Regions from separate parts of the Homo sapiens genome. Here region 1 is linked to region 2. The links are contacts of gene promoters, found by promoter capture Hi-C in human tissues and cell types (Jung and others, 2019). All regions are on one chromosome and are shown on one strand. The core of a region is centred on a gene start or on the middle of the fragment in contact, and the rest is flanking DNA. Distances in the headings are between cores, read along the strand shown.

Evidence for each region. Contacts are between HindIII fragments. The study calls those that stand out against the background at their distance.
Region 1: the fragment with the promoter of DPEP1 here is called in contact with the fragment with the promoter of FANCA in region 2 in 2 of the 25 tissues and cell types used here (aorta and bladder).

The regions. Positions count from the first base shown.
Region 1 is chr16:89,612,245-89,616,420 of GRCh38, reverse strand. DPEP1 (dipeptidase 1) reads right to left here and starts at 2,779. Exons shown (of 11, transcript NM_001389466.1): 1 at 2,702-2,779. RefSeq lists enhancers at 208-910, 911-1,615 and a silencer at 3,021-3,179. The HindIII fragment of the contact is 39,869 bases long and covers 1-4,176 here.
Region 2 is chr16:89,814,730-89,819,025 of GRCh38, reverse strand. FANCA (FA complementation group A) reads left to right here and starts at 2,379. Exons shown (of 43, transcript NM_000135.4): 1 at 2,379-2,489; 2 at 3,040-3,149. The coding sequence starts at 2,411. RefSeq lists enhancers at 1,716-1,765, 2,151-2,445 and silencers at 2,306-2,595, 2,826-2,875. The HindIII fragment of the contact is 15,845 bases long and covers 1-4,296 here.

The sequences.
Region 1 (4,176 bases), core at 1,530-4,029, 200 kb after region 2:
CACCCGCTGTCTCCCCTCCTTTCCGCCCGTCTGTCCGATCCTCTCACAGCTGGCTGGGCCATACTGCTCTGTGAAACTGTGCCCGGTCAGCCCCGGAGTGGGTGACCCAGGACCCGCTGGCTGTGTCCTTCCAGGGCACAGGTCCCAGCCTCTCCTGTTTCGTCGACACTGGCTACCTGTGTGGGCTTGTCTGTTTCTGGGCTCTGAGCCCTATCCCCACAGCACTGACTCCCCCACCCACCTGAACCCCCAGCCCAGCCCCCGAAGCCCCACGGACCCAGCCTCCTGCTGCGCACCCCAGCTGGAGTTCAGGGAGCATTTTAAATTCACTTTTTGTGTTTTTTTTTTGAGATGAAGTCTTGCTCTGTCACCCAGGCTGGAGTGCAGTGGTGTGATCTCAGCTCACTGAAACCTCTGCCTCCCAGGTTCAAGTAATTCTCCTGCCTGGGGACACGACACGTAGGGGACGCCTGAGCCCTGCGCCTTTGGGCCTCAGTATCTGTGAAATGGGCCTGTGAAAGGGGTGGACACTCAGAGGCCAGGGCGGGCCTTGGTGCTTGGTCTCCCTCCACACAGCCCACTCCTCTCCAATTCACACCCCACCAGCCGGCCAGGACCCCGGGGCCCCCGTGTTGACCGCCTGCCTGGCTGCTGCAGCTCCTGCCCTCTGGTGGCCAAATCCCAACGTGCCTCCGTGGGGCCGGTTCCCGGCTCCAGTTCACCGGGGCCTCGCGGGGTCCTGCAAGGCGGGGTCCTGGGGGCTCACTTCACCCAAGAACCAGCTGCTCCTCCCTCAGGGTGGGCTCTGCCTGTGGGCTCTGAAGACCTGGGAAGGCTGAGCAGGTGCTCGGAGCCACCACTGCTTCCATGGGTGTCCTGCCCTTTAACCCACGCCCTCACCCCTGAGAGCAAGGCTGCTGTTACCCCTGTCTCCTACTCTTGGAAACTGAGGTAGAGAAGACAGGTCCAGCCCCCTGGCTCATGGGAGATGGAGCCAGGATGTACGCACAGGACACAGGTCCAGAGACTCCAGAGCTGCGTGTAGACCAGCACCACTGCCCTGCCAGGCCCGCCTGCCCGCTCTGTACCCAGTGGGAGCTGGGAGCCTCAGCCCGACCTGTGAGGCCACCCCTCAGGGGCGGCTCTGAGAGGCCGCTTTGGGGCTCAGTGTCCGTCCACCGCAGCCTACGTCCCCCTGAAGCTGCAAGCAGGGACTGAGGGACCCTCCCCGTCTGCTCCTGGCCTCCGACTGGAGATTTGTCAAAGCTGACCTTTTGTCGACAAGGAGACTGAGGCCCAGCGGGAGGTATTTTAGAGACACTTCCACGTTTGGAGGCCCTAGATGCCCCCTTCCACCCATGACACCCACTGAGCTTCTCCATGGGGTCAGACGCCAATCAGCAAGAATTCGCCAAGAGATGTGGAGGCTACTAGACCCTCACCATGAAAATAGCTTGGCTGTGTAAGAGCCATTGGCCGAAGTAGGTTCTGCCCTTCGCTAGCCCAGCCGCAGCTCCAGACTCCAACTTCCGCCTGTGCCCAAGGCTTTCTCTCTAGCATGTCCTGTGATAACCCTGAAGCTCCCCGCACCCTACCCGGGGAGAAGATTTTTCTTTTATTTTTTTGGATACGGAGTCTCGCTCTGTCACTCAGGCTGGAGTGCAGTGGCACGATCTCAGCTCACCGCAACCTCCGCCTCCCGGGTTCACGCCATTCTCCTGCTTCAGCCTCCCGAGTAGCTGGGACTACAGGCGCCCGCCACCACGCCCGGCTAATTTTTTGTATTTTTTATTAGAGACGGGGTTTCACCGTGTTAGCCAGGATGGTCTCGATCTCCTGACCTCATGATCTGCCCACCTCGGCCTCCCACAGTGTGGGGATTACAGGCGTGAGCCACCGCGCCCGGCCACAGCTTTGATTTTCATTCAGCAAATCCTTTCCACCTGGAAGGAAATTGTGGGGCCGGACAACAGGCCCTGCTCTTAGCTGGGCGGGAAGGCAGATGACTGCGCAGAGAATTCCAGAACAGAGAGTAAGTCCGGGGACTCGGCGCTCCTCACACAGCCTCTGAGAACTCTTCCTGGAGGAAGGGGTACGTGAGCTGAGTCCCAAGGGTGCCTAGGACCGCACTGGGCGCCACAAGGAAGGAACAGCCGGCACAGTGGACAAGCGGGGTTGTGGGGCCTCTGGAGGGCCTGGCGGGTCCAGACCTCATCCTAGGGACCACGGGGAGGGCCAGTGGGAGGACAGCGGCGGGTCTGAGAGCAGCTCTCCCACCTCCTTGAGTCCCAGGAAGCCGCCGCGTCCCCTGCCCCACACACCTGGCCCCAGTTTCCTAGAATCCCAGGAAGCAGCCGCGTCCCCTGCCCCACACACCTGGCCCCAGTTTCCTAGAATCCCAGGAAGCAGCCGCGTCCCCTGCCCCACACACCTGGTGCCAGCCTCCTAGAATCCCAGGAAGCTGCCTCGTCCCCTGCCCCACACACCTGGTCCCAGCCTCCTAGAATCCCAGGAAGCCGCCCCGTCCCCTGCCGCACACACCTGGCCTCAGCCTCCTAGAATCCCAGGAAGCCGCCGCGTCCCCTGCCCCGCACGCCTGGTCCCAGCTTCCACCCACAGTGGTGCCCTGGGGTCCCCGGGCCTGCACCACCCCAGGTGGGCACCCCAGTACCCTGGCGCACCGACTCCCCAGCCCACTCACCCTGGCCTCTGCGATGCAGACTTGCTCCCTGGCAGGGCCCGGCCTAGGCAGCTCCCACGCCAGGCTCACAGCTGGGCTGGCCCTACCCGGCCACCTGCTGCCCCTCCCAGGCCCCTCCTCAGGAAGGTGAAACTGCCCCATTTCCTGCAGGAACCCTGTGTTCTCTGAAAGTAGAAAGAGGAGGGAAATGGAGGAGGGGAGGGGAAGGTTGGAGAGAAAGGGCCAGGGGTCGGAAGGAAGGGCTGCAGGAGGGAGAGAGGAGGAGGGAGAGAGGAGGAGGGAACTTTGCTCCAGGAGATGGCTCTGCGTCCTGACCTCCCCCAAGGCTAGAAACTTCTCCAGCAGCTTCCTCATTTCCTGAGAGTGCCCTGAGATGTCCTGGCAGTGTTTTTCCCTCATGTGTGGATGTGCCACCTCCCAGCCAGGGGGGTGCGTGCACAGCTGTGCTGTCCAGCTCTGTGATGTCAGATCTTAGAGAATGCTACACATCAGTACACATAAGCCATCTGTGTCCTTTTTCTCATGCATTTTCGTTGTGAAAATACAACATGTATACCAACAAGACATATAGGTGTTGGGAGGGAAACTGAGGCAGGGCTTGCATGATGTCCTTTGGAATGTGTCTAGACTTGCTGGCTCCTTCCTTCTAGCCCTCCTAGGCCCCTATTCCCATTATCTCAAGTAGCAGAACATGCTCCATATAAATGCTAAACCGGCACAGCTGTAATCATGTGCTTAATGCAACGTGGTCTTTTGACCTCCATATTCTCACCATCTGTTTCTTTGTTGCATTACCAATAAATACCGTGGGCTCCCAGAGCTCGGGCTTTTGCAGCCTCCACAATAGCGATGGCCCCCTGGTGTGCCACCTTTCTCTCTCTGTGTTTTTCTGAATCCTTTGACTCCGCCGGACTTTGTCACCCCCACGACCTGGGGTTGGGTCTGATCACCCCAACATATAGGTACTGTACCTTTACACAGAAACTACACAGGTGTTCGTAGCAGGACAATTTAGTATAGCCAAAATGTGGGAAGAGTGCAGATGCCCAACACGGGGACAGATAAATGTGTCTCTTCACGCAGTGGAGTATTACTCAGCCATGAAGAAGAGTGACGTGCTGACACGTGCTATAACATGAAGAACCTCAGAAACATTTCGCTAAGTGGCAGAAGCCAGATAGTCGGGTGTGGTGGTGCGCACCTGTGGTCTCTGCTGTGAGGCTGAGGCAGGAGGAGCGCCTGAGCCTGGGAGACTGAGGTTACAGTGAGCTGCGATCACGCCATTGCACTTCAGCCTGGGCCGCAGAGTGGGAGCCTGTCTCAGAAAAGAAAGAAAGAAGCTAGACTCAAAAGACCACATGTCGTGTGATTCCACTTATATGAAATGTCCAGAATAAGTGACTCCATAGACACAGAAGGTGGATTCATGGTTGTTGAGGCTGTGAAGGAAAGTGGGGAGTGGGTGCTAATGGGAA
Region 2 (4,296 bases), core at 1,130-3,629:
GCAAAGGAGACTCCCTTTCATGGTCTGCTAAGTAACGGGTGCCTTCCCAGACACTGGCGTTACCGCTTGACCAAGGAGCCCTCAAGCGGCCCTTATGCGGGCATGACAGAAGGTTCACCTCTTGCCTTCCACTCACTTCTCACAATGTCCTTTCAGCACCTGACCCTATACCCACCGGTTATTCCTAGGTTATATTAGTAATGCAACAAACAGTAATATTAAAAGCTAATGATTAATGTTTATAATAATTGATAATTGTCCATGATCATCTCCATAATTTGTATTATGACTGTTCTTATTGTAACGATTTTATTATACTGAAATAGTTTGTGCCTTCGGTCTCTTGCCTCGGCACCTGGGTAATTCTCCGCCCACAGGACTACAGGCTCGTGTCACCACACTGGGCAATACAAAAAATACAAAAAAAAAATTTTGTATTTTTTGTAGAGACGAGGTCTTGCCATATTGCCCAGGCTGGAATTCTTACCTTTGTTACTGTATTTAACGTATCTTTTTCCTCCGGCCATCTTCATGGTTTTCTCTCTGATTTCCACAGTTTGAATACACTGCATGTGTCAGGCAGGGGCTCATATTTATCAAGTTTTGTGTGTGCTCTGAGCTCAGGTCTTTCATTATTTTGGGAAAATTATTGGTAATTTTCTCTTCAAACATTTTTTATGATTTGTTCTTTCTTCTTCTTTTGGGAGTCCTATTACATGCATATGATATCATTTGATATTTTCCCACAGTTCTTGGATGCTTTTTTTAAAAAAAAACTTTTTTTCTTCTTTATTTTCCAACGTGGGTAATTCCTATTTTTCTCAGCTGTGTTGATCCTACTGCTGCCCCATCAGAAAAATTACCTGTTATCAGCGTTCTTCCTTTCTTATAATTTGATGAGTTTCCTCCTCATGCATATTGTTCACCTTTCGTACAAGAGACCTCCACATATTAATCACAGTTAATTTAAATTTCCAGCCTGTTTCAATTTCTCGATCACCTCTGAGTCTAGTCCTGTTAATTGCTTAGTGTTATTTTTTGTTTTTGAAACAGGGTCTTGCTCTGTTGCCCAGGCTGGAGTGCAGCGGCGCGATCTCAGGCTGTTCCCTGAGTTCACACCATCCCCCTCAACCAGCAGATTGCAAAGTGTCCGAGTCGGGCCGTGCAGGAGTCTTTGTGGGGGTTTCATGGACTCCGAATTCTCATTTCTGCTCCATCCCCATCTCATGAATCCAAGGCCCCACTCTGTGCCTCGGCTCTTCGTTTGTGGTGCTGAACGTCATCTACGTCATCTACGCCATCTACGTAATCAACACAATAAAGACGCCTGCCGGGAACGCGGCCCTTCGGCTGAATCCCTTCGGTGGTTCCAAGGCCACTGCCAGAGGATGCGGACGGGTCTCCAGGGCCTCTACTTACCCAGGACTTTGAGGCACATTAGCTTCGCCTAGGCACTCGCTTTTACGAATTCTTATGTTTGGTTTTGTTTTGAGACAGAGTCTCGCTCTGCCGCCCAGGCTGGTTAAAAGATAGGGTCTCAGCCGGGTGCGGTGGCTCACGCCTGTAATCCCAGCACTTTGGGAGGCCGAGGCGGGCGGATCACCTGAGGTCCGGAGTTCGAGACTAGCCTGGGCCAACATGGCGAAACGCTGTCTCTACTAAAAATAACAAAAATCATCCAGGCGTGGTGGCGCGCACCTGCAATCCCAGCTACTCGGGAGGCTGAGGCAGGAGAATCACCTGAACCCAGGAGGCAGACGTTGCAGTGAGCCGAGATCGCGCCACTGCACTCCAGCCTGGGCGACAGAGGGAGACTCCGTCTCAAAAAAAGGAAAAAAAAAAAAAAGAAAAGAAACAAAAGTGATGGGGTCTCGCTCTGTTGCCCAGGCTAGTCTGGAATTCCTGGGCTCAAGCGACCCTCCAGCCTCGGCCTCCCAAAGCGCTGGGAATACAGGCGCGGCTACCGCGCGGTCTCCGGCTGCCGAAACACCGCCCTGCGCGCGGACCGTTCGGCCGCCGGGAGGAACAGCGGCTGCCCGGAGCTCAGAGGCGCGCGCGGCTTTGCGCTCCCCGCGGCGCTCTGAGCCTGCCTCGGCTTGGTTGGCCAGGTGGTCTCTTCAGGACCAACCCCAGTCATTCCCGGCAGGAACCACGCTTGAGGGGCGGCAGTCTGCCCGCGCGAGACGCCCCCGCGGACTACACCGCGGCGGCAAAGCCAAACGCAAAAACTACCTCACCGCGCGCAGGCGCCTCCCCCAGGACCAACATGGCCACGACGCAAGGCCTCGACCTGAGGGGCGTGGCCTGGCCGCCGCCAGCCAACGGGTGTGCGCGCCTGGCCGCAGCCAATAGGAAGGCAGCGCGGGCTCGGGCGCAGGGAGCCGCCGCCGGGGCTGTAGGCGCCAAGGCCATGTCCGACTCGTGGGTCCCGAACTCCGCCTCGGGCCAGGACCCAGGGGGCCGCCGGAGGGCCTGGGCCGAGCTGCTGGGTAGGTGGGCGCGGCAGGCCGCGGGAGTGGGCGGCGTCCGGCCCGGGACGGTTTCGCCGGTTCCCCGATCCCTTCCCGCCAGAGCCTCCGCCGGTCGGATCCCCGGACGCCGCGCCCGGGGGGCTGTGCGGGGTGGGCGCCCGGCTGGGGCGGCGCGGCTGCCTCGGACCCGGCCCCTCCTGCGCCTGGGCGGACGCCCCCAGCCGCCGCCCGCGGGGCGCTCCCTTCTTTCCCGAACGCCGCCCCCGCCGGCCGCCCTGTCAGGCGGGCCTGGGGTGCGCGGCCTGGGGCTCCCCTCAGCGCAGAGGCCGCCCCTCGCCAGCCGTCCCCGGGCTCCCCTGCCTCGGGCCCTCCTGGGCCGTCTTCCCCGGCGTCCGCGGTGGGGCCGTCTCCGTTAGTTTCCCGAGACCTGCGCCCTGGGGAGGAGCCCCGGCCCCTCTTCGGGAGGGTGTCGCTGGTGGGTTTCTCCGCGGCGTCCACCTGCGCGTCGGGCCGGGGACCCCGTGTGTGAATTGTGCTGTGATGGTTTCGAACCGACTTCTCTCCGTAGCGGGAAGGGTCAAGAGGGAAAAATATAATCCTGAAAGGGCACAGAAATTAAAGGAATCAGCTGTGCGCCTCCTGCGAAGCCATCAGGACCTGAATGCCCTTTTGCTTGAGGTAAGAGGAAGCTGGTGTCCGTCTGCGGGCAGATTTAGGTTCGGGGTTTTTGAGTCCAGCCACCGCACAGCTTTCCTAAGAAAACACCCGAGGCGGCGGGCGCGGTGGCCTGGCCCGCAGAGGGGAGGGTCGCCTGAGCCCGGGAGTTCTGGACCAACCTGGGCAACGGGGTGAGACCCCGCCTCTTTTATTAAAAACAAAACAACAACAACAAAAAAACAGGCCGGGCGCCGTGGCTCAGGGCTGTAATCCCAGCTTTTGGGGAGGCCAAGGCGGGTGGATCACTCAGGGTCAGGAGTTCGAGACCAGCCTGGCCAACATAGTGAAACCCGGTCTCTACTGAAAATACAAAAATTAGCTGGGTGTGGTGGCGCACGCCTTTAATCCCAGCTACTCGGGAGCCTGAGGCAGGAGAATTGCTTGAACCTGGACCCGGGAGGCAGAAATTGCAGTGAGCCGAGATCACGCCCCTTGCAATCCAGTCTGGATTACAGAGTGAGACTGTCTCACAAAAAAAAAAAAAAAAAAAAAAAAAAAAAAAGCCGGGCGTGGTGGCTCACGCCTGTAATCCTAGCCCTTTGGGAGGCCGAAGTGGGTAGATCACTTGAGGTTAGGAGTTCGAGACCAGCCTGACCAACATGGTGAAACCCCGTCACTACTTAAAATACAAAAATTAGCCGGGTATGGTAGCAGGTGTCTGTAATCCCAGCTGCTCAGGAGGCTGAGGCAGGAGAATCGCTTGAACCTGGGAGGTGGAGGTCGCCGTGAGTGAGATCCCGCCATTGCACTCCAGCCTGGACGACAGTGAGACTCCCTCTCAAAAAAGAAAAAAAGGAAAATAGCCCAGTAGGGAAGCATTACTTACACACAGGTTGTGTTTATGCACAGATCTTGAATTTTTTTTATTTTTATTTTTTATTTTCATTTATTTTTTTTGAGACAAAGTCTCACACTGTAGCCTGGGCTGGTATGCAGTGGGGTGATCTCGGCTCACTGCAGCCTCCACCTCCCGGGTTTAAGTGATTCTCCCGTCTCAGCCTCCCGAGTGGCTGGGACTACAGGCACGCGCCACCATGCCCTCCTAATTTTTGTATTTTTAGTAGAGACAGGGTTTCACTATGTTGGCCAGGCTGGTCTCGAACTCTTG